Linked DNA regions of Homo sapiens: region 1 is linked to region 2. Evidence: promoter capture Hi-C in human tissues and cell types (Jung and others, 2019). All regions are on one chromosome and are shown on one strand. The core of a region is centred on a gene start or on the middle of the fragment in contact, and the rest is flanking DNA. Distances in the headings are between cores, read along the strand shown.

Region 1 (7,159 bases), core at 4,307-6,806, 1.6 Mb before region 2:
CTGTTGCCCAGGCTGGAGTGCAGTGGTGCGATCTTGGCTCACTGCAACCTCTGCCTCCTAGGTTCAAGCAATTATGCTGCCTCAGCCTCCCGAGTAGCTGGGATTACAGGCATCCACCACCACGCCCAGCTAATTTGTGTATTTTTAGTACAGACAGGGTTTCACCATGTTGGCCAGGCTGGTCTCAAACTCCTGACCTCAGGTGATCCACCCACCTCAGCCTCCCAAAGTGCTGGGATTACAGGCATGAGCCACCATGCCCAGCGGGCAACACCTCACTTTTAAAGAGCTTGATCATTTAACAGGACACATAAGATGATCACAGTTAGAGACTTTCCATACGCCTACACCCCCAGTTAAGAAAATCAGCCAACTTTTAGCACTTATCTCAGGTAAAGTTATATTCTCAGACTCTAATACTTAGTGCTGTCCCAGGGCCATTCTGAGGGCAGGGGAACAGACAGAGGAGACCTTGGTTTCTACTTCACCATCATGCTTTTCAGTGGATGTCAGTTGTCTGGGATCCACATCTGAAGAACGTAATCTCAATTGGAAGAAATCTCCTAGCAAAAGGTTAATTTTGGCACTACGCATTATTTTCAGCACTATAAATTTACCTAAACTGGGGCGGGACTCCATCTGTGTACACCGTCTGCACTGTATGAGAAGGACATCGAGATGCTTGCAGAGCTTGCAAATTCGCATTTACATTATCTCTGTAGCCCTGAGTTCTGGAATTTCAGTGCTTCATTGAGGAGTGAGCCCTGATGGGTAACACGGCCTCCGTTCTATCAAGTGAGCAGATATTTTCAGTTCTGGGCCACAACAAGGGCTGCCACTGATTCTTATTTTGGAATTGTTTAAGACCAAGAACCTTCTACAGAAGGTTTTGACCTCATGTCCACATTTTTTTAAGCTGGAAAAATTACCCTCTGATGATTCTGGCGAGGAGCTGCTATGGGCTTTTAAACGCTTTGCCTCCATGACCCAGAAAGAACGAATTTTTCCACCTTGACTTCTCAAGGCACTGCATTTTCTAGACTTCTAAATTCTATACATGTCTTGGACACATGGCCACAGGGCCTGAGCAGTGCCCAGTGTCTACGTACAATACATGAATTACCTTGAAAGTCACCTGGAAATACTATTATTTTATTTTTTGTTTGCATCTTAGAATAAGGCTCATGAATACAAAATTACTTCTTCCAGAGGCCCCTCCTTGAACCTGAATGTAAAATGATATTCAGGAAAGCAAATTTGGCTCTGCCAACTTAGGCCTGGAACTAATAATTTGTTTTTTTGAGTCAGGGTCTTACTCTGTTGCCCAGGCTGGAGTGCAGTGGTGTGATCTCGGCTCACTGCAACCTCTGCCTCCTGGGTTCAAGTGATCCTCCCACCTCAACCTCCCCAGTAGTTGGGACTACAGGTGCATGCCATCATGCCTGGCTAATTTTTGTATTTTTTGGTAGAGATGGGGTTTCACCATGTTGGCCAGGCTGGTTTTGAACTCCTGACCTCTGTTGATCTGCCTGCCTCAGCCTCCCAAAGTGCTGGGGTTACAGATATGAGCCACCGTGTCTGGCCCTGGCACTAATAATTTAAAATTAGAGCCTCAGTAGTACCCTGTAACAAACTCAGAACTAAGATGCCTTGCTTTTTAAAAGGAACTGATATTGCTCTGCCCTGTAAAGACTGAAAAGATCAAATCCCATCTCAGCCTAGCCTGGGATGCAGGTCTAAGCTGCTTCTGCATAATAAATTGCAGCAGGTGGCCTGGACACTACTGTTTCTGTATTGAGGCCATAGTTGACTTACTAGGCTGGTGTTTTCTCTGGCCAATCATATGGCCTGAGTACTTTTGCTTAAGGCAGGTACAGCCTGAGCAGCATTTGCTGGAAGCTGCCCATAATTCAGTCCCCCTTTTTTTTTTTTTGAGATGGAATCTTGTTTGGTCACCCAGGCTGGAGTGCAGTGGCGTGATCTCGGCTCACTGCAACCTCCGCCTCCCGGGTTCAACTGATTCTCCTGCCTCAGCTTTCTGAGTAGCTGGGATTACAGGTGCCCACCACCATGCCTGACTTTTTTTATTTTTAGTAGAAATGGGATTTCACCATGTTGGATAGGCTGGTCTCGAACTCCTGACCTCAAATGATCTGTCTTTCTCGGCCTCCCAAAGTGCTGGGATTACAGGGGTGAGCCACTGTGTGCCTGGCCCATAATTCAGTTTCGACTTTACGGAAACAGCCTCTCTCCAGTGAACAAAGTGCTGGGATTACAGGCGTGAGCCACTGTGTGCCTGGCCCATAATTCAGTTTCGACTCTATGGAAACAGCCTCTCTCCAGTGAACAAAGCCATTATAAGCTTTTGCTCAGGGTGCAGTAATTAAAAACCAAATGCACAATGGCTAAAAATCTAACTGGCTCAATATAAACCTCCACAACCACCTAAGGCCCCAGGGCCTTGCCCAGATCAATACCCATGCACCCTGGCCCTACCAAAAAACCTTTTCATGTGTTATTTTGGTTTCAAAACTCCATTTCCTGTTGATATAATTTGGCTGTGTCCCCACCCAAATCTCATCTTGAATTGTAGCTCCCATGATTCCCATGTGTTGTGGGAGGGACCTGGTGGGAGATAATTGAATCATGGGGTCAGTTTCCCCCATACTGTTCTCAATAGTTTTATAAAAGGTGTCCCTTTTTCCTTGGTTCTCATTCTCTCTTTGCCTGCTGCCATGTAAGACATGCCTTTTGCCTTCCACCATGATTGTGAGGCCTCCAGAGCCAGTGGAACTGTGAGTCCATTAAACCTCTTTTTCTTTATAAATTACCCAGTCTCAGGTATGTCTTTGTCAGCAGCATAAAAATGGACTAATACACCTGTCTTAATTCTCAGTATTCCTGACCCATGCAACAAATGATGGTGTCTCTGAGTGTGCTCTCCATCAATGGCTTCTCCTTTCCCTACCTCAGTTCTGATACAGATGAAAGCAAAGTCTTTTTTTTTTTTTTGAAATGGAGTCTTGCTCTGTCCCCCAGGCTGGAGTGCAGTGGCGCGATCTCTGCTCACTGCAAACTCTACCCACCACGTTCATGCCGTTCTCCTGCCTCAGCCTCCCGAGTAGCTGGGACTACAGGCACCCGCAACCACGTCCGGCTAATTTTTTGTATTTTTAGTAGACACGGGGTTTCACTGTGTTAGCCAGGATGGTCTCGATCTCCTGACCTCGTGATCCACCCACCTCGGCCTCCCAAAGTGCTGGGATTACAGGCGTGGGCCACCGCGTTCGGCCGAAGGCAAAATCTTAAGATGTGGCTTACATCTTTGGGCAAGTATGCTTCCTAACTCCTTAAATTAAAAAACTGCTGCTCCCCATAGGCAGCTCATTCCCAAGATGAAAAAGGGAAGAACTGAGCTGAGCTGAGCATCCTCAGTTTCTTCTCTTCAAATTCATGAATCCTGTTAAAATATACTTTTTCCCCTGGAAAGTGAGAAGTCCAGAGAGTCCAGGAGTGTCACACCTTCCTATGTAAGAAGAATCTTGAATGAGGGGGATGTGCCCCCCCCATCCATGTGGAAGAGGTTGCATTAAATAGGAATGTAAGAGTGGTGTTTGATAAATCTACTATGCAACAGAGTTCCCAAACTGGAAGTCCGTCCCTTCTTTTCTCTAAGTTTTGCTCTAGAGATATGTTAAAAAGAAACAAACCAACAAAGCCCTTTACGTTGTCATGCTTGCATTTTGTAAGCTTTAGTTTATCTTGATTCTAAACTTTTGCCATTCTTAGCACTGTTTAATTGGACTCTGAAGTATTTAATCATCTGAATGGTTTTTTGTTAAGTCTAACAGCAACACCTGTGGCTACCTCAATTCTCATAGGTATCTTGTCCTTTTCAGTGATGTGATGTAACCTGCTCCTCAAACAGGATGGTAAGCTAGTCAGTTGATTTTCAGCATAGGTGCCATGACATTTAATAAGGGAAAGAACAGTGTTTTCAGCAAATGGTGCTGGGGCAACTAGATATCCACGTGCCAAAAAATAAAAATGGATTTGGACCCCCACCACACACCATACCAAAAAAAAAAAAGAAAGAAAAACTCAAAATAGTAGATTTAGATGTATGAGCTAAAACTGTAAAACTCTTAGAAGGAAACAGGTAAAATATTTATGACCTTGGTTTAGGCAATGATTTCTTAGATATCTGAAAAAAGATATCAGAATATTCAGAATATATAAAGAACTCTTACAAGTAAATAATAAAAGGACAAATAACTCAATTAAAAAGTAGGCAAAGGATCTAAATAGATATTTCTCCAAAGAGGACACAGAAATGCCCATAAATACATGAAAGGATGCTCAATATCATTACTCATTAGAAAAATATAAATCAAAATGCAATAAAAGGTCTAGGCATGGTGGCTCACACCTGTCATTCTAGCACTTTGGGAAGCCAAGGAAAAAGGATCACTTGAGCCCAGGTATTTGAGACCAGTCTGAGCAACATAGAGAGATCCCATCTCTAAAAAAATTAAAATTAAAAAAACTAGGCAGGCATGATGGTGCACACCTGTGGTCCTAGATACTCAGGAGGGTGAGGTGGGAGGATCACTTGGGCCCAGGAGGTCGAGGCTGCAGTGAGCCGTGAGTGCACCACTGCACTCCAGCCTGGGTGACAGAACAAGACCTGGTCTCAAAAAAAAAAAAAAAAAAATTGTTTAAGTGTTAATAAAAAATGCAATAAGATACCACACTCGCTAGGATGGCTAGGAAAAAAGACAGGTAATAATAAGTGTTGATGAGAATATAGAGAAATTGCAATCTCAAACATTGCTGATGAGTGTAGCTACTTCGGAAAACAGTCTCGCAGTTCTTGAAAAAACCTGTTTATAGAGTTACCATATGACCCAGTAATTTCACCTCTTTTATGTACCCAGGAGGAATTAAAAGTTACATCTACACAAAAATTTACGCATGAATGTTCACAGCTACACTATTCATAAGAGCCCCAAAGTGGAAACAACCCAAATGTCTATCAACTGGTGATGGATAAACAAAATGTGGTATGGATATGCATACCATGGAATGCGACTCAGTATAAAAAGGGATGAAGTGCTTGCATATGCTGCAACATGAATGAACCTTGAAAACACATGCTCAGTGAAAGAAACCAGTCACAAAAGACCACATACTGTGTGATTCCATTGACACAAAATGTTCAGAATACACAAATCTACAGAGACAGAAAGTGGGTTAGTGGTTGCCTAGGACCAGGGAAAGGGGGTCATTTGAAGGGAAATGGGGATTGCCTACTAATGGGTACAGGGCTCCTTTTTGGGTGATGAAATATTTTAAAATTGATTGTAGTGATGGCTTCACAATTCTGTGACTATACTAAAAATCGTTAAATGGTACACTTCAATTGTGTGAATTGTAAGGTATGTGAATTACATCTCAGTAACTCTCTTAAAAGACAAACAAAATGATACAAAACAAAAATGCCTACATCTTGAAGGTAGACATCATGTTTGGCACTTCTTTGTGCAATGAGAATGAGTAAAGGAGTGTACCTTGCTGATTTTGCACTTGATTGAGGTCCTCCAGCCATTCAAGTCTTCAGAGCATTGAAAACAATAAAAGGGTCTCCTTCTCAGTGATGTTTCTGAAGACTGCATGGGGCAGAGGAGAGTTCACCTCCCCGGGCAGTTTTCTTAAGGCGCTTGGGGAAGGCTGGGTCCAGAAATACCAACAACAGCAACAGGCACTGGAAAGCCGGTCCCCTTCCCTCTATGCCTGTGGCTGTTGGATACTCTGTCACCATTGGATTACCTCACAGACCTGCCCTTGTCACTGGTGGTCCCTTCTTATTGTCGTTGCCCACCATGGTGTGGGAGCCGTGTACAAGTGCCTCGATCTGCAATTATGTCTGGAAAAGTTAGGACGCTTCCATGAACTCTGAGTGCGAGTTCTCAGAAAGTCTGCTAATTACTCTCAGTTCCTGGAGAATCTCTTCCCAAGACCTTCGTCTACAGATGCAGATACAGAAGACAGATCTTACCACTTTGTGCTGTTCCCTGACCTAAAGGGTGCTTCCGGGAAACAGGCTCTATCCTGTTCCAAAGCTGAAGCTCTCCCCTTGCTGAACCCAGACTGGATCAATAGGCTTCGCCCTTATATTCCCTCCTGCCTCTGTCATCATCTTCTCCCCTCCTCCACCCTCTTTCTAGAGCTTCCAACTTCTTTTCTGGCAAGCAGTATCAGGAATAGATCAACACAGAATTCGAAATTAGACAAACCTGATAAGCATCTTCCCTCCTCTTCTTGCTATCTGTGTTAACTGGACCAAGTCACTTCACTGCTCTCTGCCTTTATTAGAGAGAATTATAGCTCCCTGGAGGGCGTGGGTAGTGGTGGTATCAAGAGTTAAGGAGATAATGCAACTAAAGCATTTAGCATGGTGTCTGGCCCCTGGTGAGTGGTCTGCAATTGATAGCAGCTGTTCTTATTTCCTCCTTTGGGCAGAAAGCTCACCCCAGATAGCGTGGTGTGGAGGCACCCTATTGTGCTGAACTCCCAGCGTCTTGGCTCTGCCGTCAGGCATGGTCCCATGGGGCTGGACTTGTAACATCTTCCTCCGCTTTTATGGGAATCGTCTCCCCTGCACGTTTTGATAGGGTAGAGGCAGCTGCCCAATTGCACAAACACACAAAACAGTAACTGTGGCCCCTCAGAGTTTGGGGTTTCTGGATTTGTTACTGGGGTGGGGGCTGGAGAAGAGGAGTGAGGGATAAACAGTCGCCACTTTCTTTCTTCCATCTGTCCCACTTCTTTCTGTGAAAGAGTGTTTAGTTCAGGACACTCATCTATACCCTCCAAAGCATTCAAATCTGAAGAAAAGTCAGTCCACTGACTAATGACTGATGATGTTGGTAAGATATATATTTTTTCTTTTGTTTTAAGAGATAGGGTCTCATTCTTTTGCTATTTTTTAGAGGCTGGTCTTGCACTCCTGAACTCAAGGGATCCTCCCACTTCCACCTCCTGAGCAGCTGAGATTGCAAGTGCATGCCCCTATGCCCAGGTTGAGGATATGTTGACATGTTTAAATGGAATGCATGAATGCACTGAGGCCCCTTGGTCATAAGCACTTTCCAGCAAC
Region 2 (7,088 bases), core at 1,480-3,979:
AGTATTATCCACACACTTATGGCCCCCTGCCTGGGTCTTGGAGGCTGAGCTGCTCTGTGCCAGGTCATACTCCCCAAAAGGCCAGGTACCTCCACCCCCTACCCTAGTAGGCATCACGCCCCTACCCACATCCACCCCAACCTCGTGCCCACATCCTTCCTGCCCCTGTCGCCAGAGCCACAGTCTTGTCTTCCCCACCCCATCTCTCACCCCAAACCAGCCACCACCCTAGTCCCTACGGTCACAGCTGCAGGTGAAGCCTTGGCCCTGCCCTCCCACTGCCGGGGCCCTGGGGGTGAAGCTTAGATGGAAGGCAGATGAAAGTTTCTCCTCCCTCCACCAGCTCCTCAAAAGCAACACCTGGGGCCAGGCGCAGTGGCTCATGCCTGTAATCCCAACACTTTGGGAGGCTGAGGCAGGTGGATCACCTGATGTCAGGAGTTTGAGACCAGCCTGGCCAACATGGTGAAACCCCGACTCTACTAAAAATACAAAAAATTAGCCAGGCGTGGTGGCCGACGCCTGTAATCCCAGCTGCTCAGGAGGCTGAGGCAGGAGAATCGCTTGAACCCGGGAAGCGGCGGTTGCAGTGAGCCGAGATTGTGCCATTGCACTCCAGCCTGAGCGACAAGAGCAAAACTCCGTCTCAAAAATAGAAAAAAGCAGCACCCTCACCTGGGCCCCCAGCCTTCCCCTCTCCCACCAGCAGGCCCTAGGTAAGATGAGGTGAACCAAGGGAGAGACTCAAGGCAGGGTAGGCTCCCTACGTTGGGCTGCACCCGGAAGCGAGAAGGAGAGGCTGATAACGGGGCTGGCCCAGGCTGGGGATAACCACAAGGCAGGAAGACTCGGGGCCAGCAGCTAGCCAGCCCACACCTCCTCTCCACCTCACCCTGGGGAGAGCCCCCAGGGGAGAGCAGGGCAGCCCCCGCCCCCTCACCTGTGACTGCGCTGCTGTACAATTCATTTTCCTCCATGCAGGGCCGGCTCTGCTTTCCCTCTGGCCCCGAGAGCTCCTTCCTCTGCCCCTAGGGAGGAGGCGCCCCGTCTCATCACCTTCCCCGATCCCCAGGCCCCCCTCTGGCCCAGGCCTTCTTTCAGGCCACCTCAACCTGCTGGCTCTGTCTGCACACTGGGTTCGGGTCCCCCCACATGGAGGAAGCACCCCATCACCCTGACCTTGACACCTGTAACACTTGCCCACAGGAAGTATCTAACACCCTCGGCCTGCACGCCCCCTTGCCCTTTCCGCACCCCGCGCGACTCACGGGGAAGGCCAGGAGGCAGATGGCCTGCACCCAGTCGCCGCGCTCCGCTGCAGGGGCCGCCAGGAGGTACAGGCGCTCCTTGGTCTCCAGGAAGAAGGCACTGGTGTCCCGGGGGCTGCTGGCCTCTCCGCCGGCCTCGGCCACCCGCAGGCAGTCACTGAGGCGGATGACCTTCCGGGCAGCCTCACACCGACGAGGCTTCTCCGGGCCCTCCTGCAGCTCCAGCCGGGCCAAGGCGCAGTCCGACCCTCCATACAGTGAGGCGCCGAAGCGGCGCCATTTCTGTGCCAGAGGCGTGGGAGGCGGGGGCGGGAGGGAGCCACCCAGAGACGGGGAGATCGTGAGCCAAGGGGAGAAGAGGAACCGTGGGAGGGGGACTGGGGCAGCCACTTGGAGATGGGGAGAGAGAGGTGAAGATCACATGAGACCCAGGGAGGCAGAGAAGAGGACAGTGACTGCAGGAATTAGAAAATCGGAGATCAGCCGCCAGCCCCGAGAAGGAGGCCCACGAGCAAGAGCAGAGACTGCCCAGGCAGAAAGCAACGCCGGGATGAGCCCAAAGCAGGCTGCAAGAAGGCCAAACAGGCCCACCGCAGTGGACTCCAGTCTGGGGAGGAAAGCGGGGCAGTGGCCGAGGCCCAGAGGAGGGAGTGAGGAGGGCGGCGTGTGACCCGGGCTGGAGACCTCATTCTCCTTCTGTGCGAAATCCTGAAGGAGAACTTCTCTCCACCCTCCTGAACCTTGCTGCCTCATTCCTTGATAGGTTGGGCCATGAGAGAGAGACAGGTGTGCCCCCCAGTGTTGGTTAGGGGACGAGGACTTCCTGGTTCAAGGAGGCCAGGGAAGGGGAAAGAGGATGGACAGCCGGCTGGGGTCCAGGCCCCCAGAGGCCCCAGCCCAAGCTGAACACCAGCCACATGCACCCCACTGGGGTTGGGAAGGAACCTCTATTGTCATCCTAAACTGTCCCTCCAGCTGCCCCTTCCATTCCCTTCCAAGGTGTCCGGTGAAAAGAAGTCAACATAGAGCAAGAGAGCAAAAGAGGCAAGAGATGAAAGCAGCACATCCCCCACCCCCACCCAGGGCAAACAGCCCTCAGTAAGGAGCACAGTTTGGGACCTGGTTGGGGCCTGGTTCAGGAGACAGCGTCGGGTAGGAAAAGAGCCCTCCCAAAGTTGAGCTCTGGGTCTAACTTGGTGGGTGCACAGTCAGACCTATAAGGGTTTTGAATATGAAACTCCCTCTCCAACCCAGGAATTCTAGCAGCCTCCCAGGCCCCCTGCCCAACCCCAGCCCAGCCTCACTCCTACCTTTCCAAACGTCTGCTGCTGCTGAAGATACAAGAAGCCTTGTTTCACTGCCCCGTCTCCCATCCTCTGACCATCTCGGAGCCCCAGGCTTCAGCTCTCTCCTTCACTCCTGCCCTTGCCTCTCTCTTCTTAGCCGTGTGTTTCCCTTCTCTGAAGTTCATTTCCTCTCTGCCTAGGGTTTTCTATACTATTCTAGTCTGCTCGATGACGACAGGCTGATAGGCCCTGCGGTTTCTTCTGAGTGTGTGTTCTTTTTTTTCTTTTTTTTTTTTTTTTCTGAGTGAGTTTTATACTCAAGCTTCCTGCATTTCCAGTGAGTTAGAGACAATTTCCAAAAAGCTAAATGCCAGCTCTTCAGTGAGCAACAATTCAGGTACAGAAGTTGGCACAGGGAGGCGCCAGCAAAGAGTGGCTGGCCCACTGGAACAGAGACCCAGAAACCAAACTAGACAGTGAAATCAGTAGTGAAGGCCCCCCCCTCCAAGCTGTACGCAAGTTGGAAGGGACAAACCACTAAGTTACAAATAAGGAAACAGGCTTGGAAAGTCTGAGGGATTTATTCAAGGTCACCAAACCAGAACCCAGGTCTCTCAACGCTTAACAGCTGAATGACACACACGGCACTGCACAGAGAGACACATAAGACAGCTCATGTGGGCCTAACCAGATACCAGTTTCACAAACACACACACACAGAGAGAGAGAGAGAGAGAGAGGCAACCGTTTAACTACATGCGAGCACTCCCTGTCTGCCAACAACACACACTCACACCAACCCTGTAAAGATTCTAGAAAGATGATCATCCCCTCTGGAGAAGGGACTGACTCCCCAAGTACATCTCAACTGTTGGATTTTTGCCTTCTTGCAAGCATTCCTGAGCATTAGAAAGATGCTTAGGTTTCATCTGCAAATTATCTTAAGTTTCAATAGCAATCACTTTCATATACATTTTGAAAATGGTTCAGAGTTACCGAAAGTGCTTCGTAGCTCGCAAAGCTTCTAGGCACACACTTTTCATCAGCCACGCCATCCTTTGACAAAGGCAGGGCAGGTATGAACACACTTATTTGCAACTTGCCTGAGGTCACAGAGGTAGTTGGGGGCAGAGGAAGAAGTAGAGACCAGGGCTCCTGATCTTTAATTCAACATTTTGCAGGGCCCCTAAATGGAATCCAGATCCATGCAAAAAGATCCATTGCTGTGGGGAAATCCAAGCTGCTCAGAGAAGTTTAACTTAAAGCCAGATGGTTTAGAGAAGCAATCTGTATGGAGGCACAGTGCAGAAGGGTTGGAAAAAACTGAGACTCAGACCAACACTCTTGGGGTTAATCCCATAACAGGTGCTTATATAAACAGGCCCATTTCCTCTACAACAGGGGTTCAGTTACCGTGGCAAGGAGCGAGCAGCACCGTGCACAGCTTAGGCCTTCTGCTGTACATGCCATGGACTGGACCAAATAAGCTTGAAAAAAATGAATGTCATGAGCTCTGTGAGGACAAGGATGAGTCACTTCAAACTCACTGCCCTCAGCCGTGATGCCTGGGTTTGAAGAGGTTGATCCAAAGCTCAAGGGAGAACCAAGCATACTGTTTTGGGAAAAGCACACCTTGGGAAGTGGTTAGGGGTATGGAAATGGGATGTGACCTAATCTTCCTCTTTAGTCCCTAAGGAGAGTCAACTCTGCCTGGGAGCTGCATGGTCTTTGGTGCAGGGAGTGAGAAGAGGAGGGCTTTATGGCCATCTTAGGGGCTGCCAGAGCAGTGCCTTCCAAACTGTAACATGTAGATCTTGTTCAAAGTAGACTCCAATAAAGTAGGTCTGGAATGAGCCCTGAGATGCTGCCGGTGGTGGGTGGGTCAAAGCACACTGAGTAGCAAGGTGACAGAGGATGTCCCCTGCTAACCTGATCGCCTTCCCTGAAGGCAAAATGGACACATTCCACTCAGAACCACAGGGGGGCACCCAAGTTTACCAGATTACTTGAAAGTTGTTTAAACCCGGAGGCCTGAACCCCAGGCAATCCAGACACTCCCTTGTCATCCCTTGCTTATGGAAGCTGGAGGAGTTCTCCGGTAGCCGTTGACTGCAGAAGATAGGGCAGCAGAGTATATACCAAGAGCAACACCCTTGCAGTCCTTCTAGGCCCCTTCAACTGTCCCTAGCAGGATTTGTGGCGACCCTGATGTAGAAGCACTAACCCCAGTACCTTCTGCCTAGCCATGGGGAAACCCTGTAAACAGGAGCCCAGAGACATTGCTCCAAGACACAGCAGAAGCGCACAGAATGAGAAGCCCTTAGGGTCCACAGGCACCAATGATGTGTAGAAAAAGCACTGTAAAGGAGTTGAGGGTGCCTCTTGGCTTGTCTTTGTTTTTACGGGAAAGGAAAAGGCACTCCAAACCCCACCTGTGGCTCATTCTAAGCCACTGGGATCCTGTCCCTTACAACAGTTTCTCTCAGCAGGAGTCAGGAACCACAGCTCCAAGAAATTTTCATTACTATTCTGCTGCAGTGATTAGCAACCCAATCCTAACATAAGAGGGCTGGGACCTTGTCTTTGGGGCAACAAAGGAAGGAGGAGAGGAGACTGTGTCTGACTCCTTGGGCCGGCTTGGGGATTAGGTAACCCTCAAATGATGTGCAGGTAGGGAAGCTAGCTAAGGGGTAGTTCTGGGCACACAACAGGTAAGTACGTATAGGATAGGCAGAGAACTGATGTGGGCCTGAGACGGGTGAAGGACTGAGCGAAAGAATTAGTGAGCGTGTATTCTGAAGGACCCCATCCCTGCCCCTTCCACCCCCAGTGGTCCCTGACTGTGGGGTGTGGGAGGGGGACAATGCCAGTCTCTTGAGCTTCATTTGTAGCCCCCCACCCTTTCTCCATTAAGTCTATCACTTTTCTCAGTACTAAGGAAAGAGAGAACCCAGTTCTAGAAACCCGCTGAGAGGAAGGGCCTATAACATAACATAACATAACATAACATAACATAACATAACATAACATAACATAACATGTTACCTAACAGTGACATAATATTTAGAATGCTTTATGTCTTCATATGAAACCCACATGCACCCTAGAATGAGACATAAAGAAGTTAATACATTCAACAGTTTTTTAAATTTATTTTTATTTATTTTTTGAGATGGAGTCTTACTCTGTTGTCCAGGCTGTAATGCAGTGGCACGATCTCGGCTCACTGCAACCTCCGTCTCCTGGGTTCCAGCCATTCTCCTGCCTCAGCCTCCTGAGTAGCTGGGATTACAGGCGCACACCACCATGCCTGGCTAATTTTTTGTATTTTTAGTATAGACGGGGTTTCACCATGTTGGCCAGGCTGCTCTCAAACTCCTGACCTCAGGTGATCCACCCCCCTCAGCCTCCCAAAGTGCTGGGATTAAAGGTGTGAGCCACCATGCCCCGCCTCAACAATTATTTACTGAGCATCTACTCTGTGCAGAGGTACTAGGGATACAACATAGACAGAATCCTTGTTTATACTATGTCTGCTTTTAGTTGGAGGGACTGATAATGAAAGAGTAATAATATGTAGTTTTGGACAGTGATCAATGCTGTGATAGTGATAGGCACAGGGGACAACTTTCAAGAGGGTGGTGAGAAAAGGCTCTCTGAGAGGTGACAAGTGAGCTGAAAAGTCCATGAGGAGAGTGAGCCAGCCATTTCACGATCTGAAGGGAAACCAATCCAGGCAGAAGTTACTGCAAGTGCAAAGGCCCTGAGGCAGGAGATCCTGGCTTTGCAGAACTGCAAGGCCAGAATGACCACAGAGCATTGAGCCAGAGGGGGCATGGTAGAGTGAGGTCAGCTCATACGACCTCTTGAGCCACAGCAAAGATTCGAATTCTAAATGCAACATGAGGCCACTTAAGGATTTTAAGTAGGAGTGTAAATTATCTGAATTATGATTTTAAAGGAATGTTCTGGCCAGGCGCAGTGGCTCACACCTGTAATCCCAGCACTTTGGGAGGCAGAGGCGAGTGGATAACCTGAGGTCAGCAGTTCCAGACCAGCTTGGCCAACGTGGTGAAACCCTGTCTCTACTAAAAATCCAAAAATTAGCCAGGTATGGTGGTGGGCGCATGTAATCTCAGCTACTTGGGAGGCTAAGGCAAGAGAATCGCTTGAACCAGGGAGGCGGAGGTTGCAGTGAGCAGAGATGGCGCCATTGCACTCCAGCCTCGGCAACAGAGCAAGACTCTGTCTCAAAAAATAACAAATAAATAAAATAATGTTCTGCAGCGTCCAGCTATATGGAAAATGGGTTATCAAGGGGCAAGACAGGAAGCAGGGAAACTAATTAGGAATCTATTACCAGAGCACAGGAGAAAGGTAATGGTGGCTTGGACCAAGGTGTTAACAGTGGAGATGGATGGAGAAGTGGTCATATTGGGTATATATTAGATATAGATTGAACAGGACTTGCAGGTGACTTGCATGTTGGGGACTGATAAGACTTGAAGAACCAACTCCTGAGTGTTTATTAGGA

What was found. The method cuts DNA at HindIII sites, captures the fragments that hold promoters and counts their contacts. A contact is called where the count stands out against the background at its distance.
Region 1: a fragment that was not itself captured here is called in contact with the fragment with the promoter of DOK2 in region 2 in 1 of the 25 tissues and cell types used here (mesenchymal stem cells).

Annotation. Positions count from the first base shown.
Region 1 is chr8:20,321,955-20,329,113 of GRCh38, forward strand. No RefSeq gene overlaps it. Among named protein-coding and RNA genes, the nearest start is that of LZTS1, 22 kb to the left of the region's middle. RefSeq lists an enhancer at 6,772-7,159. The HindIII fragment of the contact is 5,001 bases long and covers 3,057-7,159 here.
Region 2 is chr8:21,910,961-21,918,048 of GRCh38, forward strand. DOK2 (docking protein 2) reads right to left here and starts at 2,730. Exons shown (of 5, transcript NM_003974.4): 1 at 2,579-2,730; 2 at 1,269-1,550; 3 at 941-1,028. The coding sequence starts at 2,641. RefSeq lists an enhancer at 648-747. The HindIII fragment of the contact is 2,220 bases long and covers 1,589-3,808 here.